3 separate regions of the Homo sapiens genome follow, and regions 2 and 3 are each linked to region 1. Evidence: promoter capture Hi-C in 16 types of primary human blood cells and fetal thymus (Javierre and others, 2016). All regions are on one chromosome and are shown on one strand. The core of a region is centred on a gene start or on the middle of the fragment in contact, and the rest is flanking DNA. Distances in the headings are between cores, read along the strand shown.

What was found. The method cuts DNA at HindIII sites, captures the fragments that hold promoters and counts their contacts. A CHiCAGO score of 5 or more calls a contact.
Region 2: a fragment that was not itself captured here is called in contact with the fragment with the promoter of GHRH in region 1 in 1 of 17 cell types (M1 macrophages); the score reaches 5.0 in M1 macrophages.
Region 3: a contact is called between a fragment that was not itself captured here and the fragment with the promoter of GHRH in region 1, in 9 of 17 cell types (M2 macrophages, megakaryocytes, naive CD8 T cells and 6 more). The highest score is 6.4, in M2 macrophages.

What each region holds. Positions count from the first base shown.
Region 1 is chr20:37,259,258-37,263,688 of GRCh38, forward strand. GHRH (growth hormone releasing hormone) reads right to left here and starts at 2,557. Exons shown (of 5, transcript NM_021081.6): 1 at 2,486-2,557. The HindIII fragment of the contact is 7,318 bases long and covers 707-4,431 here.
Region 2 is chr20:37,483,201-37,487,221 of GRCh38, forward strand. No RefSeq gene overlaps it. Among named protein-coding and RNA genes, the nearest start is that of NNAT, 36 kb to the right of the region's middle. RefSeq lists enhancers at 3,269-3,914, 3,915-4,021. The HindIII fragment of the contact is 2,413 bases long and covers 323-2,735 here.
Region 3 is chr20:37,501,283-37,505,641 of GRCh38, forward strand. No RefSeq gene overlaps it. Among named protein-coding and RNA genes, the nearest start is that of NNAT, 18 kb to the right of the region's middle. The HindIII fragment of the contact is 1,903 bases long and covers 423-2,325 here.

The sequences.
Region 1 (4,431 bases), core at 1,307-3,806:
CGCATGTCTGACTTAAGCTTTTGTTCCTCAGACCAAGGCTCGGCAGGCTTCCGTCCTCCTCATCGCACCATACCACGTCTGGTCCCCCTTCTCCCCACCTGGTCCAGGCTGCCTCTCCAGAAGTGGAATTTCCTAAGCCGAGAGATCTCTGGATGCAAGCAGGGCCCCTTGACAGAAACCACTGCCTTTTCTGTCTCCCAGCTGCAGCCTGGCTTTCTTGCCTTCTTTGCTGCTGATCTTTTAAAGATTCAGGCAGATCTAGGTCCCCAATCACCTCCCTCCCCTGCTCAGAAGCCCTTGGCTCCCCACTCCTTCCAGAATAAAGCTCAAACCCCTTCTCTTGGCTTAAGCTCTCCCTCTGCCTGCCCCTTCTCCCAAGGGCTGGCACAAGTGATTCCCAGCCCCTGTGCCCTATCAGGCTCCACAACCCATCCTTGCACTCTCCCTCTGGAGCAGGCATCCCCATGCTCCTCTTACAGCCAAGGAAAAGAGCCTAGAGAGGACAAGGACATTTTCCATGATCCTCCATCAAATTAGTTTTGGAGTGGGCACTTCAGAGTGGGCCTCCTCATTCCCAGGCCGGCAGACTTCCTTCCGCTCCATGCAGCAGCCTCCCAGGTACAATGCTCTATTCACAGTATTCCCCATTCACAGGGATCCTCAGCCTCCATCACCTGCACGTGGGAAAGGGTCTGAAAAAAAGGAAAGCTTCTTGCTCTTTGTTGTTGGGCCTCTGGGGAAGAAAGAACAGGGACAAACAGGAACACCTGCTTGATTGGCCCCTCCCTATGCACACCCAGTAGTTTCAGGGAGTTGAAACAACCTCATAGGAGGGCAGACTTTGGTGGGGAGGGCAAGTCATAGTAAACACAATACCCCGCTCATTCAAGATAAGGCTCAGCAACTGCACAAGTTAACCAAGAGGCTCAACATTTGCCACAAATCCTGTGCCCCAGGCATAGGTCAAGACCCCACAGCAACCTCTGAGCTATGAGAACCGAATCCATGGGTTTGCAGATCCCACTGGATGAAAATGGGAAACAAGAATTATCCAGTGTAGGGTAAGATAAGAAGAATAGAGGTTATGTCACTAAGGATAAAATAGCTCCAGCCTGAGCAACATGGCGAGACCCCATCTCTACAAAAAAAAAAACACACAAAACAAAACAAAAAAAAACTTATCTAGGCATGGTGGCGCATGCCTGTAGTCCCAGCTACTCTGGAGGCTGATGTGGGAGGATTGCTTGAGCCCGGGAGGTTAAGGCTGCAGTGATCCATGATAGTGCCACTGCACAGTAGCCTAAATGTCAGAGCAAGACCCCATCTCAAAGAATAAAATAAAATAGCTGTCAACAGACACATTCCACATGACAACTTAAGGAGTCAAAATTCACTGAATGAAGTGTAGCCGAGCCCAACAGCATTGCTGGCAACCCTGATGACTGAAGGCACTCCAGAGTTTATAATCTATCATTATGATCATCGGTTAGCTTCCTGCAGTGCTTACTGATTCTGGGATTAGATGTACTTGAGATTGCCTGGATTCAGGATAAACGGGCACTTGATCTACATCCGTTGGCACCTTTTGCCAGCTTTCATGCCAGGAATGCCAGGAGAATTCTGCAGATTCACCTGCAGCTGACAGAGGTCAGGTCTCAAGCACCCAAATTCGCAAGGCCATTTTTGAAAACCCAGGGAAAGAACATCTTTAACCTTCCTTGAATATCCCCCTTTGAAATTTGAGCACCCCAAAGCATAGACTTCCTGATCTGGTTTATAAACTGTTTCAGTGACAGCATTCCAAGTTAAAAGAAATCTAAGTTTTTAATGAGGAAGCATCTTGAACTGTCATTCAAAAGAGTGACACTCCACCTCCTTCCAGAAGGGGTTTGAGGCAGTCTATGGTGAAAGACACAAATACTTCAGGACCATTAAAGCAAGGATCAGGAGACAGGCGTGGGGTAGCGGAGGACTCCAAAGGCAGATAATTGTGTCTAAAACCTGGAGTAAAGAGTGTGGCTGCAATTGAGCAAGAAAGCAAAATGTTATCAATTTCCCGGCAATTACATTGAATCAGTTCTGAGTGATCAATGAGCAGTATTGATTTGCACAGCCACTTGGCTCATCTCTGATCCATGGCAGAATCCCATCGCTGACAGGAAAATCGAGCCAACTCACGTTTGCCCCCGAAGCCTGCCCACGCATCCTCGAAGGAGCACTGAGACCTCACCACCTGCGACAGACACCTGGAGCCAGTCCGCCACGCGCCCAAGTTAAGACAAGCCCCAAACAGCACCATCAAAAGCCTATTCCAGAGCCCCTATTGAGGGGTGATTTTATCCAGAGAGGGGCTCAAATGTACTCACCAGTCCATGGGCAAAGAGGATGGCGGTGGGCCTCTTGGACTCAGTGTTTCTAAGTTGGTGAGAAGGTTAACTTTTCTTACCCCCACCCAGCCTAGCCCCCCCAGGGCCACCCCTCTCACCTGATGCGGCAGATATCCCTCTGCTCCGAGGCACTGCTCAAATCCAGGGGCCCTGGGCTGGGTGTTTGCTCTGGCAGCCGCCTGGCGTTCCCATCATTTATCTCTTCATTTTCCTAAGCGTTGTCAGCGTCAGAGAATCAATTACCCACAAGTCAACCAAAGGACTGTTTTTAGCATCATATCACACTGACAAACCCTGTTGGTGAAAGAGGTTTGGCCCCTTGCAGACTTAGACTCCTGGTAAAGTCTCCTTTTATCTTTGGCACAGTGGACATAGTACAAAGGTGTAACATTATTCCAAGAGGATATAGAGAATATATACTGCTATAATAGTGATTGGAGAACTCGGCTGGGCGCGGTGGCTCACACCTGCCATCCTAGCACTTTGGGAGGCTGAGGCGGGTGGATTGCCTGAGCTCAGAAGTTTGAGACCAACCTGGGCAACATAATGAGACCCTGTCTCTAGAAAAAAATTAAAAATTAGCTGGGCATGTTGGCACATGGGTATAGTCCCAGCTACTCAGGTGGCTGAGGCAAGAGTGTCACCTGAGCCTGGGAGGCGGAGGTTGCAGTGAGCCAAGACCACGCTATGGCACTCCAGCCTGGGTGACAGAGCACGACTCTATCTCAAAATATATATTTTTTAAAAAAAGAAAAAATATGTGTTAAAAATAATTGGAGAACTCATAACAGTGAAACACCAAGAGTTTATTGATTCTCCAAGATAAATGTGCCTTTTCAAAAGTTCATATAATTTAGCTTTGTCCCTGTGTAATTTTATTTCACTTTTGGGTAGACAACATTATGAATAAGCGTTATTCTCTCCTTAGTGGGGAATTTGTTCCCTATCTCCCTTGTCGTCCAATTATCAGAATTCTGCACTATTTGATTTACACCTGCTTGGTCACAGGCTGATTTCAACAGCTAGCCTGGGGGCATCCGTCGTCACCTGTCAAGGCAGCCAGACATTGGCAGTTGCCTCAGAGAAGTGTGAAATGAGAGGGAAGAGATGGAAAACCTTGGGAGAGTTGTTGTGTTTCCAGATTTCTCTAGCCTATAGCTAAGAAATCCTCAGGAATGACATAAAAGCACAGGAGGCAGAAGCTCTGGTTTCCCAGGCGGCCGTCGTGGAGGTGTGGAAAGAGCTCCAAGCCTCGAGTCTAGGGACCTGCTGCCTCTCCCAAGCCTGTCAATCATGACCTCTGTGACCCTTAGGAAGTTACTTCTACCTGGCTGGGTGCAGTGGCTCACACCTGTAATCCCAGCACTTTGGGAGGCTGAGGCGGGTGGATCATGAGGTCAGGGGTTCGAGACCAGCCTGACCAACATGGTGAAACCCCGTCTCTACTAAAAATACAAAAATTAGCTGGGTGTGGTAGTGGGCACCTGTAATCCCAGCTACTCAGGAGGCTGAGGCAGGAGAATTGCTTGAACCCGGGAGGTGGAGGTTGCAGTGAGCCGAGATCGTGCCACTGCACTCCAGCCTGGGCGACAGAGCGAGACTCTGTCTCAAAAAAAGAAAAAAAACTTCTACCCTCCGGGCCTCAGTTTCTACCTGGAAACTTGAGAGTTGACATAGAACAGCAACTTTCAAACTATTTTTTTGAGAGGGATCCTATCTTTGCCACCCAGGTTGGAGTGCAGTGGCATAATCTCGACTCATTGCAACCTCCACCTCCCGGGTTCAAATGATTCTCCTGCCTTAGCCTCCAGAGTAGCTGGGATTACAGGTGCGTACCACCACGCCTGGCTAAGTTTTGTATTTTAGTAGAGATGGGATTTCACCATGTTGGCCAGGTTGGTCTCAAACTTCTGACCTCAGGTGATCCACGTGCTTCTGCCTCCCAAAGCACTGGGATGACAGGTGTGAGCCACCACACCCAGCCCAAACATTTTTTAAAAAGTAGCAAAACTCTTTCTTTGGAAACCTACAGAGACAGGTTTTT
Region 2 (4,021 bases), core at 279-2,778, 220 kb after region 1:
AACAAATTGCCTTGTAGAAAGATTTTGCCACTTCACAGTCCTGCCAGCTGTGCAAGAGAGGGCCCATGCCACCGGGGCTGAATGAGCTCTGTGAGCTCTTGCTTTGTAAAGTACTCATTCGATGGGCCAAAAGTGGTATCCCTGCATTCAAATTTACATTTATTTTATTATGAGTAAGTTCAACATTTTCAACTGAATTTGACTTTTGAACTTCATCTTTCATAAATGGGCTCTTACAGCCTTTTATCACCCCAATGTTTCATTATGAAAATTCTTACTGCCTCTGTGAATGTTTTATTTATGAGAATTTCCAACACACAGAAGCTTTACATTTCCTATAGTCAATTATATTTATATTTTCCAGCACAGTTCTCTGTATTGCTGTAAATGCTACAATGGCCTTCCTCGACCATAGTTTGGATAATGAATCATTTCCAGTTTTTTCTAGTTATTACTATGCTTTCTTTTTTTTTTTTTTTTTTTTGCATTTAAATCATCTGACATGGCCGGACATGGTGGCTCATGCCCATAATCCCAGCACTTTGGGAGGCTGAGGTAGGCGGATCACCTGAAGTCAGGAGTTCAAGACCAGCCGGGCCAACATGGCGAAACCCTGTCTCTACTAAAAATACAAAAAAATTAGCCGGGTATGGTGGCGGGTGCTTGTAATCCCAGCTACTTGGGAGGCTGAGGCAGGAGAACCACTTGAACCCAGGAGGCAGGGGTTACAGTGAGCCAAGATCATGCCATTGCACTCCAGCCTGGGCAACAAGAGTGAAGCTCTGTCTAAAAAAAAAAAAAAAAAAAAAATCACCTGACACTTACTGAAAAGATGACATCAATTAAAAAGTAAAGAAGACAAAAAAAAAATTGAAAAAAATTTAAATAAATCACAGGACATTGATGTTGGTGGTTGGTATAAAGAGAGATAAATAATTGCTTTTCGTTTCTGAAATAGATAAAATAATTTTCCAGCCTCACTAAGTGACAAATCACTTCATTCCCCCTGCCTGCCCCCATTCATTTGCAGTGCCTCTGCTCTCATAAGTCATAGAATTAGACATTCTAGGGATCTGCATCTGGGCTTTCTATTCTGTTTCATTGAGATGTCTTTCTTTCTGTTACAAAATAATGGTTATTTTGTTTTGTTTTATTCTGCAATGTCTGTTAGGGTTAGAACCCTTGAAATCTCTGTTTCATATCAGATCACTTCCCCAAGCATCTAACTCCCACACCCAATTTCCCTTTTGGTAATCTAACCTTGAATTTCCCATAGCATGACTTTTTTACACAATACATGTTTTTCTAGCTACCTCCTCTCCCTGGAGATCACATGGTATTGTTGTGCTCCATAGGGGCAGGCCAGTGGTGCACTCAATCCTGAAATCTTGGAGGCACGGTCAGGAGATATGGCTTTGAGCCACATCCCTGCCAGTCATGCACTGTGTTGGGCCCTCCCCACGCTACTTTGTCTTGGGACATCTCAGCTTCCTTTTCTGTGAAATGGGGTTGTCAAGACCACGTGAGATAGAGAATGTCAATACAGCCTTATTCTTCACTCAACAAATGTGTGCTAGGTGCCAGGGATAAAAGAGCAGCCAGGGTAGAAATTGTCTCTGAAGAAACAGCCTTCAAGGAGCTTACAGTCTATTAGGGGAGAGTCCTCTAAAACAGAGGAAAAGGCAGTTGCCAAAGAAGTGATTGCAAAGGCTGTGGAGGAAGCAAACAGAATGTGAGGGAGAGCATGGGGTAGGAGCCCCACTTTAGATGGGTGGTTGGGGAGGGTCTCTCTTGGGAAACATTTAAGCTGAGCCCAAAAGTCTGAGAAGAGGGTGGTGGGAAAGTGGTTTCCAGGTATGAGGAGCAATGGGAGCCAAAGCTCTAAGAGAGGAATGAGCTTGGTGCACTGGAGGACTAGAAGAATTTGCTTATGGGTCGGGTGCGGTGGCTCATGCCTGTAATCCCAGCACTTTGGGAGGCTGAGGCGGCCGGATCACCTGAGGTCAGGAGTTCGAGACCAGTCTGACCAACACGGTCAAACCCCATCTCTACTAAAAATACAAAAATTAGCTGGGTGTGGTGGCACACGCCCGTAATTCCAGCTACTCAGGAGGCTGAGGCAGGAGAATCGCTTGAACCTGGGAGGCAGAAGTTTCAGTGAGCCAAGATCGCAGTACTGCATGCCAGCCTGGGCGACAGAGCAAGACTCCGTCTCAAAAACAAAACAAAACAAAACAAAACAAAACAAAAAAAGGCTACTCTGGCTGCTCTGTGGGGGTTGGATTATTGGGAAGAAAGTTAGCAAGTACCTGCAGTGACCAAGCAAGAGATGACGGCTTGGACTGAGCCATTGGTCATGATGATGGAGTTGGTTAGGAGGTAAGATCAACTGACCTTTCCATGAGATGTTGCAAGAGAAGAAGGCAGAGATTCTAGGGGACCGCTAAGTGTCTCCCAAAATAGGAGACATCAGTCAAGAACAAATTTGCAGAAGAAAGATTAGGAATTTGAATTAAAGAGCATAATGAAGTGAAAAAATAACAAACCAAGAATTTCATTTGGGATATGTTGTTGATGTCTGAGATGGTTGGCCATCAGGTTCTGGAGCTCAGACGAGAGATCAGGGCTGGATCTGGAAGAAGATGTAGAGAGGAAGATGGGTGTGTTGGACTGGAGCTTAAAGGAGCCCAGTGTGGACTATCAGTTTTGGGAATCAGCCTCTAGGAGAGAGGCAAAGCTTCAAGGATGCATGAAGTTGAGGGAAAAGGTGCACAGTGAGAGGGAAGGCTGGAGTCTGAGCCCTGGGCAGCACCAGCATTGGACAGGGGGAGGGGAGCCTGAGAAAGAGGGGAAGACAGGGAAAGAGAGTCCCAGAAGCCCATGAAGGAACATTTCCAGAAAGAGAGTGGCCACTGGTGGGCCACATGCACAGAGGTCAGTGGAGGCTCAGGCATCTCCTAGACCTGGCCTTTGGGGACTTTTGTCACAGCAACTTTGGGGCAAGGGGCAGAAGCCCCTGTTGGTGTTGGGGGAATGAACTGGGTCTGGCTGAGAAAGGAGGGAGGAGGGTTGGAGCAGGCAGCAGGTCCAGGAAGGAGCTGATTCTTCCAGGAGACATGGGAGGGAGGAAGCAGTACAAGCCCAGTTGGAAGAGCAGGGCAGGGCAGTGAGAGGGGCCCTGGAGCTCTGGGATTAAGTGTAGAGGTGAAGGGATTAGCAGTGTTGGTGAAAAGGGACAAAAGTAAATTATGTACATTTTAGCAAGTAACCTGATCTCCATGTTCTTTGGGAGGCCTTTTCTCTGCCCTCTGGGTACTGACTCCAGCTCTAGTTACCACTGGTTTCATCTGCCTCATGGCTGGGGCAATGTCTTTCTCATTTTCTTGTACCTTTCAGCACCTAGCGACAGGCAGCCAGCTAGGTAGGAGCAGAATAATTATTTTCTGCTTGAAACCCAGTGTCTGAAATGGAGATTCAGAAGTTTTTCTTTGTACCAAAAATACTTTGTGACAACCCTGAGGAAGTGAGATGACAGGGAAGGAGGTGTTGGGGTACATGGGGATGGAAGGGCTGGAGGGCTGGAAATGTCACCAGGTTAATTTCATGGCTGGGCACCGGGAGATGTGATTGGCAGGGGAGGAAGGGCTAGGACTACTCACCCCACACAGGCCTATCTCTTCACAGCCGATGTGACGCTGCCCAGTGGCCTGGCCTCCCTCAACCTGTTCACTGCTGCTATTCTTTCCAATAAACTCCATTGCCCAATCCAACAGACTTTTCCGTCTTTAACTCACTTGGCCTGGCGGGAGCATCTGACATAGCCAACCACTCCCTCATAAGAGTGGCTCTCCTTGGCTTCCATGACACCAACATCTCCCAGTTAACCTCCTGCCCCAGTGGCTGCTGCTCCTGCCTCTCCACCACTTGCTGCCCACTATGTAAATGTTGAATTCCCTCGGGGCTTGTGTCTGGGCTCTTTGTATCCCTCCCTCCCTTCCTTCCTTCCTTCCTCCTTCCCTCC
Region 3 (4,359 bases), core at 124-2,623, 240 kb after region 1:
TAAAATGTACCTGAAAAAGTAAATGTGCAATATGACCAAGACAATTTTAAAAAAGAATAAGGGGCTGCGCACGGTGGCTCATGCCTATAATCCCAGCACCTTGGGAGGCCGAGATGGGTGGATCACTTGAGGTCAGGAGTTTGAGACTAGCCTGGCCAACATGGTGAAACCCTATCTGCACCAAAAAATACAAAAATTAGCCGGGCATGGTGGCGCGTGCCTGTAGTCCCAGCTACTCAGGAGGCTGAGGCAGGAGAATCACTTGAACCTGGGAGGCGGAGGTTGCAGTGAGCGGAGACTGCACCACTGAACCCCAGCCTGGGCGGCAGAGCAAGACTCCGTCTCAAAAAGAAAAAAAAGGAATAAAGGCCTTGGGGGAAGGGTGGAGTGCTTATCTTATCAAGCCATAAGACACTTTATTAAGCTTTGCTCATTAATATGTACTATTGGCTCAGAAATAGACAAATAGATCAACAGAACCGGAGTCTAGACAGGGAATTGAGAGAAAAGATGGTGTTGGAACAATAAATGGTGCTTAGCAAACTGGATATCTGCAAAAAGAGCAAATTAGAGCTCTGTGTCACACCATACATGAAAACACATCTCAGATGGGTTAAAGATTTAAACATTTCAAACAACTATAGACGTTTTAGATGCAAACACACAATGTATATACACTGCGGTGGGGACCTGCTTTCATCAGCAGTGCGGCAGGACACTTAAGCATCCAGTAGGGTTCCAGGCCGACCTCACCTCCCACCTTTGGAAAGGGCCTGCCGAGCATCTCCATCTGGACCTCACAGACTCCTCTTCCTCCTTCTCTCCAGCTCCACCTGGTCCTGGGAAGAGGGACTGCCACACCGGATGGACTGAGGTCTGAAGCCAGCTCCTGCCACTTGTGCTCTGTGTCAATAAGGCATCTCCCTCTCTGGCTTCCAGTTCCTCCTCTATGAGTAGGTAATGGGGTTACGCTCCATTTCTTGTGGGGAAATGTGAAGCTCGTATGAGATGATCAATGTGAGCATGGATAAATGGCATGGAGCTTACAAGGATGAGGGGAGCAGATACCTCTACTTTGTCTTGATCCACTCCCCATAACCCCTGCTACGCAAGACTTAACATCCAATTCTTCTTCCTTGCATTGTAACTTCTGGATAATTGTCGTAGAATCTTTTTGGTCAAAAGAAGTTTGAGTGTTGACTTCTGACATTTGATTCCAAGGCAGAAAATACTGATTCGGCACCCAAGGAGCTTACTACCTGTTGCTAGGTGCTGAGAAACACACAAAATAATAAGACATAATCCCAGCCAAAAGACAGGATAAAACTGGTGCTAATTAGAACTATAGTCGGTACACAGGTCAGATAAAAGCTCCCAAAAGAACATGGAGATCAAGTTACTCTCTAAAAGGTACATAATTTAATTTTGCCCCATTCAGTCAAATACACATTATTGCCCCAAACTAATTTATCCACCTCCATAGTTGATCCCAGCCCCTTTGGGAGCTCATCTCACTAATTGTCTCCATCCCTAATCGCTCAATTACTCAGGCTCCTTATCCTCAGAATGTTCATCTGCCAGCATTTCTCTCTCTTTTAAGATTAAAAGTCCTGGATCTTGCTGCTTCTTTCCTTAATCGACTCCCACCCAAACTGCTCTGGCAGAGATTCTCAGAGGTCCCCCAATGGCCCCTTGGGGTGCTCATCAGCAGGGCCACCATGCTACCCAATTCCAGAGGCACCATGGAGGTTGTGCAGGTGCACACTGGAGTAGTTCAGGGATTGCCCTGGTCCTCCTGACCTCTCTGCACACACCCACTGCTGACCACCCTGTCTTTCTGCTGAGACACCTCCCGGCTCTTTCTTTTCAGTGCTCTCAGAGGATTCTTCTTCTCTTTTCTAATCTCCAAATGTTGGTGCTCCTTGGGCTTGATTTTTTTGTCCTCAGCCATCCCCTCGCCTAAAAATGCCCCAGAAGCCTGTCAACATCTGGATCCATATTTCCATTTGGGAGCCCCCTGGAGCCCTGGACTGGTCTCCATAATTTCTCACCTTGTGCTCTGGAGCTGTGCCTTCAGCTGTTTCTTCTCCATCTGCATTGGGATGTCTCAGCTTTTACCACTGGACTTGGGGTCTACCTTACAGACCTGGCCCCTTTCCAGGGCTCCCCAGCTCTGAAAATGGCATTGCCATCTCACCAGTAAGGCAAACCAGAAGCTCAGGGGTCATCCTGAACGCTGCCCTCTTCCAGCCCCTCTTCATTCCATCCAGCACCAAGACTAACCAGAATATGCAGATCATGTCCAAATCCTGTCCACTACAACAAAGCTTCCGAACTAGCCTCCCTGTCTACCCATGCTGCTCTAATGATTTCTCCACAGAACAGCCAGAGTCCCAGGCAGATTACAGCAACATACCAGGGCAGGTCACATCCCCTGCTTCCCTCGCTCTCAGGATGTTGGCAGGAGCTCAGCCCTGGTCTCCAATGCTCTGTATAGCCAGAACTGCTTGTCTCTCTGGTCTCACCTCTCCTTCCTCTCTAGTCAGGCCCTTTGCTCAGAATGCTTTCCAATTTGCTTTGTGGTCAACTTTGTTCTCTTCTTTCTATCTTGGTTTGGAGGATCACCTCCTCAGGGAAGCCTCCCAGAGTCAGATGAGGGCAGGTCCCCTGGTGGCACACCCTTCAGTACTCAGTACCATTCCTTCAGAGTGCCTATCAGTGTTGGAAATTGTACATTTACATATGTGATTATCTGACTATGTCTTTCTCCCCTACCACCATGAGAACAGGGATTCTGACTATTTTAATTCATTCACCCAAGTATCCACAGTGCTAGGCACACTGCTGGGCTGGGCACACAATTAGGTGCTAAAAGAGAATTATGTGGAATGTATCAACTTTCGTATTAAACAATGGATGCTTAACACTTTGGGAGCTGAGCCTATACACCTGCTCATCTTTCCTAGCCTCAGCCTCCCAGCCCCTACCCTTCACATCTCCAAATCTCCCTTCTGGACTCCTTAGAGGACTCCTAGTGACAGATCCATGTCCTCTCACATCTCACCATTATTCCAGCCTAGGCCATCACTCCCTCAACATGCTCTTATTAAGGCCATCAAAACTTACTAATTATGAAATCCAAAGGAAAAATTCTCTATCTTATTGGAATTCTCTGCTGCATTTGACAGTGTTGATTACTTTCTCCTTGAAACTCTTCCCTAACTTGGTTGTCATGGCAACCCCCTCTCCTGGTTGTTTGTCGCATCTCTCAGGCCCTTCCTTTTATTTCTCCTTTTTTGCCTGCCCACACCTGGCTCCTCAAATGTCACTATGACTCATGATTCTGACCTGAGCCCTCTCCCATTTTTTCTCTACACACTCTCCCTGGTAATCTCACTTATGCTTAGGGTCCCCATTACTCTGAGTGGTGACAGCCCTGGGCTAGTGCTTCCAGCTAAATCTCTTCCTGAGCCCTGGACACCAGGATCTAAGTGTCTGCTGGGCCCCACTTGGCTGTGTCTGAGTCCACTATCCTGTCCCTCAAACTGGCTCTCCATGCTGTGTTCCCCACCCCAGGGGCCTCCCCACCATCCACCCAGGACTCCACTCAAGATACACGGGACTGGGCATGGTGGCTCATGCCTGTAATTGCAGCACTTTGGGAGGTCAAAGTGGGAAGATTGCTTGAGCCCTGGAGATGGAGATCAGCCTGGGCAACATGGTGAGACCCTGTCTCTATGAACGAACAAACAAACAAACAAAACCAAGACACATGGGAATTACCTTTGGCTTGACCTTCTCTCTCACTCTCACAGATAAGTACTCACTAATTATTTCTGGTTTTTATCTACCACAAGTTCTGATCTCTCTCCATCCCCACTGGTCTACTTCAGGCCTTCCCCTCTCTTACCTGGAAGTCTCCTGCCTCTGAACTGGCTACTTCTTCTAATGGATATCTGGGAGTTTTGGCTTTTTAGCATGCCTTATTCCTCCCTGAAGCCCCTTATTACTTTTAGGGAAATTTTCTATCTTATGTGGCTGTGGTGGGACCTGGGCCGTTCTCTCACATGGAAGCTATGGAGGCCCCTCCTCCAGGTCCTGCCTCTTACCACCCAGGTCCTATCGGGGATGGCACAAGGCCCAAGCTCAGCCAGCTAAACCAAGCCTCTCTCTGGACTTTGACTTCTGTCCAAATAGCGAAGAAATAGAATTCTTTGATGTCTAGGCAATACCAACAAATAGAACTGCTACTGAGACCCTGAATGTCCCATTCAAGCCTGTGACCTGGACCTTACCTATTTCATTGCTCCCTGGATATTGTCACAAAGTCTTTTTGATACAAAGAAAAATTTCTGAATC